2 separate regions of the Homo sapiens genome follow, and region 1 is linked to region 2. Evidence: promoter capture Hi-C in 16 types of primary human blood cells and fetal thymus (Javierre and others, 2016). All regions are on one chromosome and are shown on one strand. Each heading gives the region's core, a stretch centred on a gene start or on the middle of the fragment in contact. The rest is flanking DNA. Distances are from core to core; before and after follow the strand shown. Region 1 overlaps LOC107986178 (a long non-coding RNA gene). Region 2 holds the start of CLNK (cytokine dependent hematopoietic cell linker).

Region 1 (5,157 bases), core at 927-3,426, 1.0 Mb before region 2:
GTCAGAGGCTGATGATACAAACAGGAATCGGGAAGACACAAAGTAATATGGAGCAGGGCTGGACAGCAGTATAGCTCTAGAAGACTGACAGTCACCAGCACACCCATGGGAAAGGAGAGGTCAGAGAGGGCCAATGGACCTGCTGGGTAAACAATCAGGATTTGAAGATTCAAAACAAATAAAGAAGATGATTGTAAATACTGAACTAGAGTTCACAGAGAAGCTGTGCAGTGCACTGGAATAAATACTACATTCTGGCTTCAACTCTGTTCCTGACTACTCTTAGGCTGTTATGCAAATCATTTTCTCTGTATAAGCCCCAGTTTCTTCCTAGGATAACTTCCTCCATTACAGAGGCTTTTGTGAAGCTCAAGTGAAAAAATGTATGTGGACATGCTTTGGAAATTACAAAATGCCTAATAAAGGTGAGAAGTTGGTATTATTTTGCTCACCGAAGACATTGGAAATAAAGTGATCGTGAAAAAATGTCAAGATGCCCCTGATATTTTTAAGTACTCATTCACCTGTCTGCCTCCACTAATGGGTTATATGCTCTTAGATTATCGAGATGTCAATGTGTTCTCTGTATACTCCTTGTAACTATCTCATTAGCTGATTCCTTGTGGTCTACTAAGTATTAAAGCAATCAATAAAATAATTGCAAACAACCTTAGTGCTGGCCTCTATGTAATCCAATTTCCCAATGACAGTGGTTTTATAGCTAGATCCCTTCCCCCCACCCTCCTTATAGTTGGGACTCCAGCCTTTCTGAGAGAAAAATCTAATGATACAATTCAGTTTAAAAATTCTCTTAAGCTCACTAAAGTCTAGAAGAACGAAAGCATGATATTCAACACTGTTCAACATATTCTGTCTTCTCCCTACCTTTCCCATCTTGTCTTCCACAAAGGCACACAGAGCCACCAAATTCTAGAAATGCTCCATGCTCTTTTTAAGTCTTAAAAGCTTCACTGCTATTCCTTGCACCTGGGATTTTCTTGCCATTTCTGACTCTACCTCTACCAAGTAAACTACAGTTTACTCAAACAGTCAAAGTTCACTCTACCTCTACCAAGTAAACTGCAGTTTACTCAAACAGTCAAAGTTCACACATCTATTTTCCTCACTAGCCCAAGACACAGTTTCACAATCTTGTCTCTGCTGGAAACCACCACATCTCATGGAATGATGGGTGTGTGAGTGTTCTCGTGGCTAAAATTACTTGTGTTTATTTCTTATGACCAGCACCTACTGGCAGTGCTTAGAAAGAGAAAACATGCTCAATATATGTTTAATGCAAAGATAGAAGAAAGAATATTACTTTTTCCAGTTGTAGTACAGGAGATATTCCTGGGAGGACATCTGGGAAAGCATTTCCTATGGGTCTTTACACAATGATCCCCATGGAGTAGAAGGAAAAAAACATATAATAATATTTCAAGCTTCTCAATTTTGCCCAGCCTTCAAGAGCTTATTTCCTATGGAACATTGACTGTATGGAGTTAAATTAGATTTTATCAAATAGTAATTTGTCACATATGTAATACATGAAGGTGTGTGATTGATGTGGAATCTTGAAAAATCATTCTAATATGTCAGAAGGACAAATGGATTAATGAGAGGTATAATTTATGGTCGTAGATGCGGCTCTGTATTAAGTTGGCAAAATCAAAGCCTCACTTAAAGGTAATCTACCTCACTCCATTCTTAACTAAAGTGTCATTGCCAGTAAGACCAGCATAGTGGAAACAGCTCAATTGTGTTGAATTCAAGCTACTTAATCGGCTTCCTTTGACTGATTCTTCAGAGCATTTGTTACTATACTTGATAAATATGTGACCCTGGATGTTTTATCACTTTAATTTTTATATCACTAGAAATAAAGTGTATTTTAATTTTTAATATTTAGGGCCAGGCTCACGTGTGTAATCCCAGCACTTTGGGAGGCCAAGGCAGGTGGATCACCTAAGGTCAGAAATTTGAGACCAGCCTGGCTAACATGGTGAAATCCTGTCTCTACCAAAAAGTACAAAAATTAGCTAGGTGTGGTGGTGCATTCTTATAGTCCCAGCCACTAGGGAACTTGATGTGGGAGAATTGCTTGAACCCAGGAGGAGGAGGCTGCAGTGAGCCTAGATCGCACTACTGTACTTCAGCCTGGGCGACAGTGTGAGACACTGTCTCAAATAATAGTAATAAATAATAATAATAATGTTTAGTTTTAATATAACTAGAAATGAAACTTCCCTTAGAACATAAATGTATCTTTTCGCTGCCTTTTTTTTCCATTTTAAGTCTATAAGTTACTGCCATGAACTAAATTGTGTCTCTCCTAAATTCATATGTTGAACCTCTAGCTCTCTGTGTGACTTTTTTGAAGATAAAGTTTTTTTCTTTTTCTTTTTTGATTTTTGTAGGTACAGTCTTTAAGAAGGTGAGGTAAAATGAGGTCATAAAAGTAGGTCCCTAACTGAGTAGAACTGGTGTTCTTAGAAGAAGAGGAAGAGATACTAGAGCTCTCTCTCTCCCTAGTGTGCACACAGCAAAGGTCAGACAGAGTGGCCTCATCAGACACCAACTCTGAAGGCACCTTGTTCTTGAACTTCTGACTTCCAGAACCGTGAGAAAATAAATTTCTGTTGTTTAACCCACTCAGTCTATGGTATTCTCTTATGACAGAGTAAGTACACCAATATAGTTACATAGAGTGGAATACACAGAATTTAAATTTACATTGCAATATGTTTTAACATATGCATATACTCATATAACCTCTCCCCAGTCAGAAGAGAACATTTGCAACATCTCGGAAAGCCTGGACTCTCTGCCACATCCCAAGGCAGTCTGGCTTCAAACTCCCACCCAGGGGCAACTGCTACTCTGATTTCTATCTCCATAAATTAAGCTTTGCCTATAATAGAATTTCAAATAAATGAAATCTTACAATACGTACTGTTTTGGTCAGAATGTATTAGCTCAACATCACGTTTTTAAGATTCACCCATGTCATTTCATTCATACAAATATTGATATTCCTGAATGGTATTTCATTTTATAAATATATCATCCTTTATTTATTCATTGTCTTGTTAATAGATATTTGAATTATTTTTAGTTTTATTTTTATATTATGAATAAAGCTGCTCTGAACATTCTCATAAAAGTCTTATTGTGGTATTTGTTTTGGTTTCTCTTGTTTAAATAACTAGTAGTGGAATAGTTTGATCACTGAATATTTACCTTTGTAAGAAACTACCAGAGTACTGCAAAATGCTTATAATGTTTTACATTCTCAAAAAAAAAAACAAAACAGTTTTTATAGCTCCACATTCTCATCAGCATTTTGGTGTAGTGGCTTTAGCTATTCCTGTGGATTTGTATGATATCATAATTTGATTTGAATTTGTATTTCCCTTTTGACTAATAATGCTGAGCACATTAAAAAATGTAATGTGCTTATTGGCTTTAGGTATCATTCCCCTTTTTTTAAATTGCAGGAGTTCTTTTTTTCTGGAAAAAGTCCTTTCTCAGATATCTGTGCTAATGATACATTTTAATTTTATAAAGATTCATTTGATGAACTGTGGAATTTAATTTTTATAAAGTTCAATTCATCACTTTTTAATGTTTTATGGAACTGTGATTTCAAAAAAGTCTTTTTCTACTTTGTCTCGATCACAAAGATGTCTTTCCTGTTTTCCTCTAGAAACCATAATTTTAACCTTAAAATTAATGCATCAGATCCATTCAAATTTACTCTTGCACCTAGGATGAACCAACGGTTGAGAATAGTTTTTCCCTAGGGCTATCAATTTGATTCTACATAACTTATTTAAAATGTTAATTTTCTTCATTGAATTGGTTTGTTGCCTTTTGTTGAGAATTAACTTGATAATTATAGGTATATTTGTAGAAACTATAATCTGTTACGTTAATCTATTATTTGTTTATCTTTATGCAAAATTCGCACTCCCTTGATCACTGAAGCTTTATATTAAATTCAATTTTTTTCCTTTTTAAAACAGTTTTGGCAATTATAACTTTTGAAATTAATACATGACTTTTACAATGAACATATGACTTTCAAATCACTGTGGCAAAACTCTACTGTAATTTTATGAGTGTTGTACAAAATCTATTTATCATTCTGAAAAGAACCAACCCAGGAACAATATTCAATCTTCAAAACTGTGAATATGGTATATTTCTGCATTTATTTGAGTTTTTAAATTTATTTCAGCAATGCTTTATACTTTTTATTAAGTTCTTATAAATCTATCCCTTAGCTTATTCCTAACCTTTATCATCTTTATGTTATTGCAAAAACTACACATACTATTTGTTTGCTTGTTTGTTTTCTTATTGTACTGGACAGGTGCTCCAACACAATGGGGAAAGCAATATCCCTCTTAATGGATGGATATTATTTTCCTGTTTTTTATTTTGGTTTCACTATTAAATAAGATCTTAGCTGAAGATTATTTATACATGTCTTTATCAGGCTGAGGAAGTCCTCATTTATTCTAAGTTTGCTGAGAATTTGTATTAAATAATATTTCTGCATTTATTGAAATGACTAAATACATTATTTTCTTAATCTGTTAATATGGTAATGTATATTGATTCACTTTGCAATGTTAAACCAACCTTGCATGCCTTGAATAAATGTGACTTGATTACAGTCTATTATCAGATATGATTTGTTAATATTTATTTTGTTAAGAATTTTTGCATCTGCTCCTGAGAGAGATCCGTCTCGAGATTTCCTTCATTGTAATACCTGTCTGGTTTTGCTGTCACAGTAATGATAGTACAAAAAATGAATTGGAAAGTGCTTCCTTCTCTATCTTCTTAAAAACAGATATGCAGTACTTTAAATATTTGCCTGAATATATCAAGGAAGCTATGTATGCCTAGAGTTTCCTTGACTAAAATATATTTAACTAGAAACTAGCTTTCTTTAATAGGCACACAGCTTTTTCTATTTTGTCTTGAGACAGTTTTGAGAATATGACTTTAGGGAATTTTTCTATTTAATTTAAGTTGAAGAGTTTATTGGCACAAAAGATTTCATAATTATCTTTTCAGATTCTTGTAATATTGTTAGAATTCTTGGAGATGTTTTCTCCTTCATTCCTGATATTGATAATTTGCGTT
Region 2 (5,002 bases), core at 972-3,471:
ATTTTTCAGCACCTAATAGAGCTGCTGATGCATGGTATATATTCAATAGATAATAAATTAATGAATGATATTCCAAGAAAAAAAGCTTTAAATATCACCTACACTATTATCAGCTTTCTCATTAAACCAAATTGTCTTCAATTCTTCATGAGTAAAAAGCAGAAATATTCATATCATTAGACTTGGGTTCTTATTGCAGTCTAGCCACCAATTGGATGTGAACATGCATTTTTAGATTATTTGCCAATGAAGACCACAATAATTCACTTTTCTTCATTCACCCCTTGAATAGTCTTCTCCCACATTTACTCTGAACTTGGCCATGTGACTTGCTTTGGCCAATGGGACCATGGCATCTAGGATGCAAGCAGAGGCCTGGAAAAGGCTGGAGGCTGGAGTTTCCCCTCTCCCACTGCCCTTAGTGCCCCAAACCCACCGTGTACATGGGCCTAGCTGGCCACTAGATAACAGGAAGCTATGCAGAGGAGAACAGAGGCACCTGGCTGACATGATTGCCAACAAACAGATTCATGAGTGTGATAATCTTAGATCATCCAACTGCCTCTCAACCCACTAGCACAGACCAGATGATCAGGTCTTGTTATGGGTCGAATACGTCCCAGCTAAAATTCATTTGTTAAAGTCCTAACCCCCCACTACCTTGGAATGCCTTCTGACATGGAGACTGGGTCTTTAAAGAGGTAATCAAGTTAAAATTGGGTAATTAGGGTGAGCCATCATTCACTGTGACTCCTCTCCTGATAAGAAGGGGAAATTTGGACAAAGACACAGGGAGAATGCCATGTAAACACAAAAACAAGGATACAAAGACACCCACAAGCCGGGGATAAAGGCCTGGAACAGATCTTCTCCTCATGGCTCTCAGGAGGATCCAACCTTGCCGACTCCTTGATCTCAGACTTCCAGAGGCCAGACTGTGAGACAATACAATTTGACCTTCTGTTTTGTTAGCCACTCAGGGCTCAGTCCTTTGTTATGAAAACCCCAGAAAATTAATATGGGTCCAGACCAAAAGAAGTGAGCAAGTGACACACACAATTATGAACTAAATAAAGTGGTTACTGCTTTAAGCCCCTAATGCAGCAAAAGCTAATTAATAAAGTGGTTAAACTACTCGAGTCTCCCTAGTCTTCAGTTTTCACAATTACAAAATGGGATTTTACATATGTTCCTTACATGGTTATTAGTAAGATTAAGGAGGATAATGCTTGCAAGTTGCTTAGCAATGTAACTGACTCACAATTAGCATTCAAAGAGTGCTTATTTTCATGTTTTCCTTGGGGTGTCTGTTAAGTCAAAACCAGAGTTATTTACCCAAGAAAATATAAACTTCTACCTTTGAATTTATTGTAAATAATGTTGGAGTTTGTTATGGAATTCAACATCAATTTATATAAAACTAGAATGTCAAGTCTCCAGAAGAGGAAACAGGCACTCGGCAAGATCAGCTTAAATGGACCAAGATTAAGGCCGAAAGAAAATGTATTAAGCAACTGATATGTGCCCAAACATTACTGCATGCCTTTATTTACAATATTTTGTTTATTTATTGAAATACTTCTAAAATATAAATATTATCCTTCCATCACAATTGAGGAAATATCATTTCCTCAATGAAGGAAATATAATCCTCAATTATCCCTCATTTTTTAAAAAAGTTTCTAAAATACAAATATTATTATCACTCAAACTACTTGAGAAATAAACTTCAAAGTGCCCAAGATCCTATAGCTAATAATTAATACAGCAAGAATAAGAGGCAGGCATTTCTCCTTTAGTTCCCAGGTTCTTTCCTTAACACCTGGTCCATGTGTCTGGGATGGTCTCAGGAAGCCATTGCAAAATTAAGCCAAAAGATGATAGTTAATGTCCACTATTCATATAAAGTGAGACTCGCAAAACCCACCTTCCATGCTTGAGTGTTGCCCAGCAGTTCCTTTTATTGTGTTCTGGTAACTATGAAGTGCCACATAAGGACACCGTGTGTCTTTAAAAACACCCTTTGCATTGGAAGATTTCAGCCTCTGAAAGCTTCACGTATTGCACTCCAGCCTAAGAAGAGGAAGTCCTGCCAGCCCTCAGGTCAGACCTCTCAGGTCTGTGGCTGCATTTCACAGGAAACCAAGTCTAAAACGGACCTATCAGGAGGTTTTCTGCTGAAGGGCACTGCTTAGCATCGAGAAGAATTCAACCCACCGCCTTACTAATTTCCAGTGCCCCAAGGTCTCTGCACTGCCGCCCCTCCTCACAGGAGACGGACACCTCAGCCTAGATCCCTTGGTGCTCTCCACGCTGTTCAGGTAAACTCATTAGGCCAGTTCTTCTGAGTGAGGATCTCATGGTCATCTCCTTGTCATAAATGATCATCAGGAAAGACCTGAGCAGCAAGTAAAAATGTGTTTCTAAAGTGGAAGTCTGGGCCTTATATATAGCATCAAAGGAGCAAGAAGAAAGCCCTTAACTCAATTGTTAAAGATCCTTTCATTCTTTTGGGAGAAAGAATCAGGATACCTACCCACAGAAAATTAAAAGACTAAATGTTTTCAATCTTCTTTTCCTGGAGCTTGGACTCCCCGACTGTTTGCAACTGAAATCTAAAGACCAGGCCCCATGGCTGGCTTTCCTGGCTGACCTTCATTAAGTAAGCCCTCTAGAAAGAAAGCCTCCATTCAAAGTAGGTCATTCAAAGTATAAGTTAACTCCTGGAGCCCTGTGGAAATATATTTTTAACATTTTCTAAAGTAATACGATTTTCTTTCTGCTTTGGTGTAGAGGAGACTTAGACTTTGGAATCACGCAGACATCCTTCCACTCACAAGAGTAAGGAGCTCAAAAGTGAGGTTAAAGTTGGGGTTAAATTCTTACTCTTGAAAAGTGCCGGGAGTCATCTCTACCAGGCTTTTATTGGATAAAGCAAACAAACTGGAATGAGACAGAAAAGAAAATAACTATCATCAAAATATGGATACTTTGATTTTAAAAGGTGTCGATATGCCTGAACTTTTTATCAATACTGTTTTTATTACTTTACACCAGTGTTACTCATTTGGCTTCTCTGTTATGAGTATTACTTGTCTATTACCTACATGGCTATTTCTCTGGCTGTCTCTGTCTATACTGTGGCGCAGCTCCTCAATAGTGTTGTTCTTTGGATTTCCAGGGGCCTCCCAAACCACCAGGAATAATCATTTCAAATATCAAGAAGACGATGGTAGAGCTGGTTAATTGAAGGCCTACCAGAGAAATGACAGCGCTTCAGAAATCCTCTAAGAAGCTTAAGATACAGTATGCCCTAGAGAAGTAGGAATGGCAACTGGCATTTACTTACCTTCAGCTCCTGCTGACCTAGAGAGCTGGCTATTACTTTCCCTGGTTTACAGGTGAAGAACTTGAGTTCTCTAAGTAATATGTGCAAGGTTGTTCAGTCACTAATGTCAGTAACAGAATTCAGAAGGAAACTGATTTTCCTGGCTGACTGATTGGAATGGTGAACAGTGTTAGTTTGCAGTTTCACAGAGCTCATCCCTAAACTCACTCCTGGGTGGTCTCTGACACCAACCATCTAAATGGTAGTATTTCTTTGTTATTCCCAACAAGCCCTCTCAGATGACTGTATAGGCAAGACCATTTGAAAGCCAGTGCTTATAATCTTCTGTACCATCTGGCCAGCTCTGGCCTGAACACCAGGGGATTCTGTTTCTCGATCACTTTGCCATGAGTCAGGTGCTGTCTTAGAAAGACTGTAGGATTTGACGCCTGATCAAAATGGTGAGGATCCTGACTCTGCCACTTGGACCAGGGATGTTGTTTCATATATGATCCTCATTTCCTCCCCCTTTTTAATAAAGTAAGATCTCATAAGACTTGTATTGACAATTATTTAGCCTCAATAATATAATATTTATATTACGTGAAATATGGTGCATTCTTAACACTTAGCAAGTATTCAGTAAGTGTTGACTTCTTTCTCCATTACTTTCCTTTCCTCACTCCAAATCAGTTCTGATTTTATTCTTAAAACATGACCACAATCAACATAGAATTGATTAATACACATAAGTTTACAAATATTGTATTTTAATAATCTCATTAGAGAATGGTAATATTCCACAGTTGTATAGCCCTATGTAATGTAGGCCTTTGAATACATATTTTCTTCTTGAATGATCTTAACAGCTTAATGAAGTAGGCAGAGCACGTATTAGAGCATTTAAAAGGTGAAACTGGGGCTTAGAAAAGATGAGGAAGGACAACATGGTGAAATGGAAAGAAACAGGGCTTTGAGATTGTCAAAAATGGACATGAATCTAGTGTGTGACTTTACTGTTCGTCTTTAGGTAAGTAGCTTAACCTCTCTGATCTTTAGTTAGCTGTTGTTGGAGTTGTGTAATTTGAAACTGGGAGGAAGAATACATTTTGTGTGTTGCTTCGAGAGTGAGAGCAAATGTGCACACAGTGTCTGACACAGAAGAGATAGCCAGGAACTGGCTAAATTTTCACATGAAGAGTAGCAGACAGAGATCTAGAAGCATCCTTTTCTGAATCCTAGTACATGGAGCAGTTATATCCACTGTCATAAGCTACTGCCAACATCTGCCAAGACTTGAGTTCTGCAGAGTTCTTCTAGGCTGTACCTACCCTCCTAGCATGACAAAGAAACATAAAGTGTTCAAAGCGGCTAAATTACTAACCAGAGAGATAAATACCTGAATTTAAATTCTATTTATGATTTTTAACAGATTAAACCAAACATTCACGATTTTACCAATAAAACTGAGAAGCATCAGGTTAGATATCAGCAATAACGAAAAAATCACACACACACACACACACATACACACACACAAACAGAATTGTGGAATAGAGCTATCATAGGACCAATTTTTGTGTTTATTATTTATTTTTTGTTACTCTTATGGGCAGAATATTTGGGAATCATTATTGTGATTATTCTGCTTAATTTTAATCATGTCTTCCAAAG

Evidence for each region. Contacts are between HindIII fragments. The CHiCAGO score rates a contact against its expected background, and 5 or more counts as called.
Region 1: a contact is called between a fragment that was not itself captured here and the fragment with the promoter of CLNK in region 2, in 1 of 17 cell types (M1 macrophages). The highest score is 5.3, in M1 macrophages.

Annotation. Positions count from the first base shown.
Region 1 is chr4:11,725,728-11,730,884 of GRCh38, reverse strand. The region is part of intron 2 of LOC107986178 (a long non-coding RNA gene); the gene reads right to left. Among named protein-coding and RNA genes, the nearest start is that of LINC02360, 41 kb to the left of the region's middle. The HindIII fragment of the contact is 1,463 bases long and covers 1,445-2,907 here.
Region 2 is chr4:10,681,987-10,686,988 of GRCh38, reverse strand. It overlaps CLNK (cytokine dependent hematopoietic cell linker), which reads left to right and starts at 2,221. Exons shown (of 19, transcript NM_052964.4): 1 at 2,221-2,321. The HindIII fragment of the contact is 1,243 bases long and covers 2,055-3,297 here.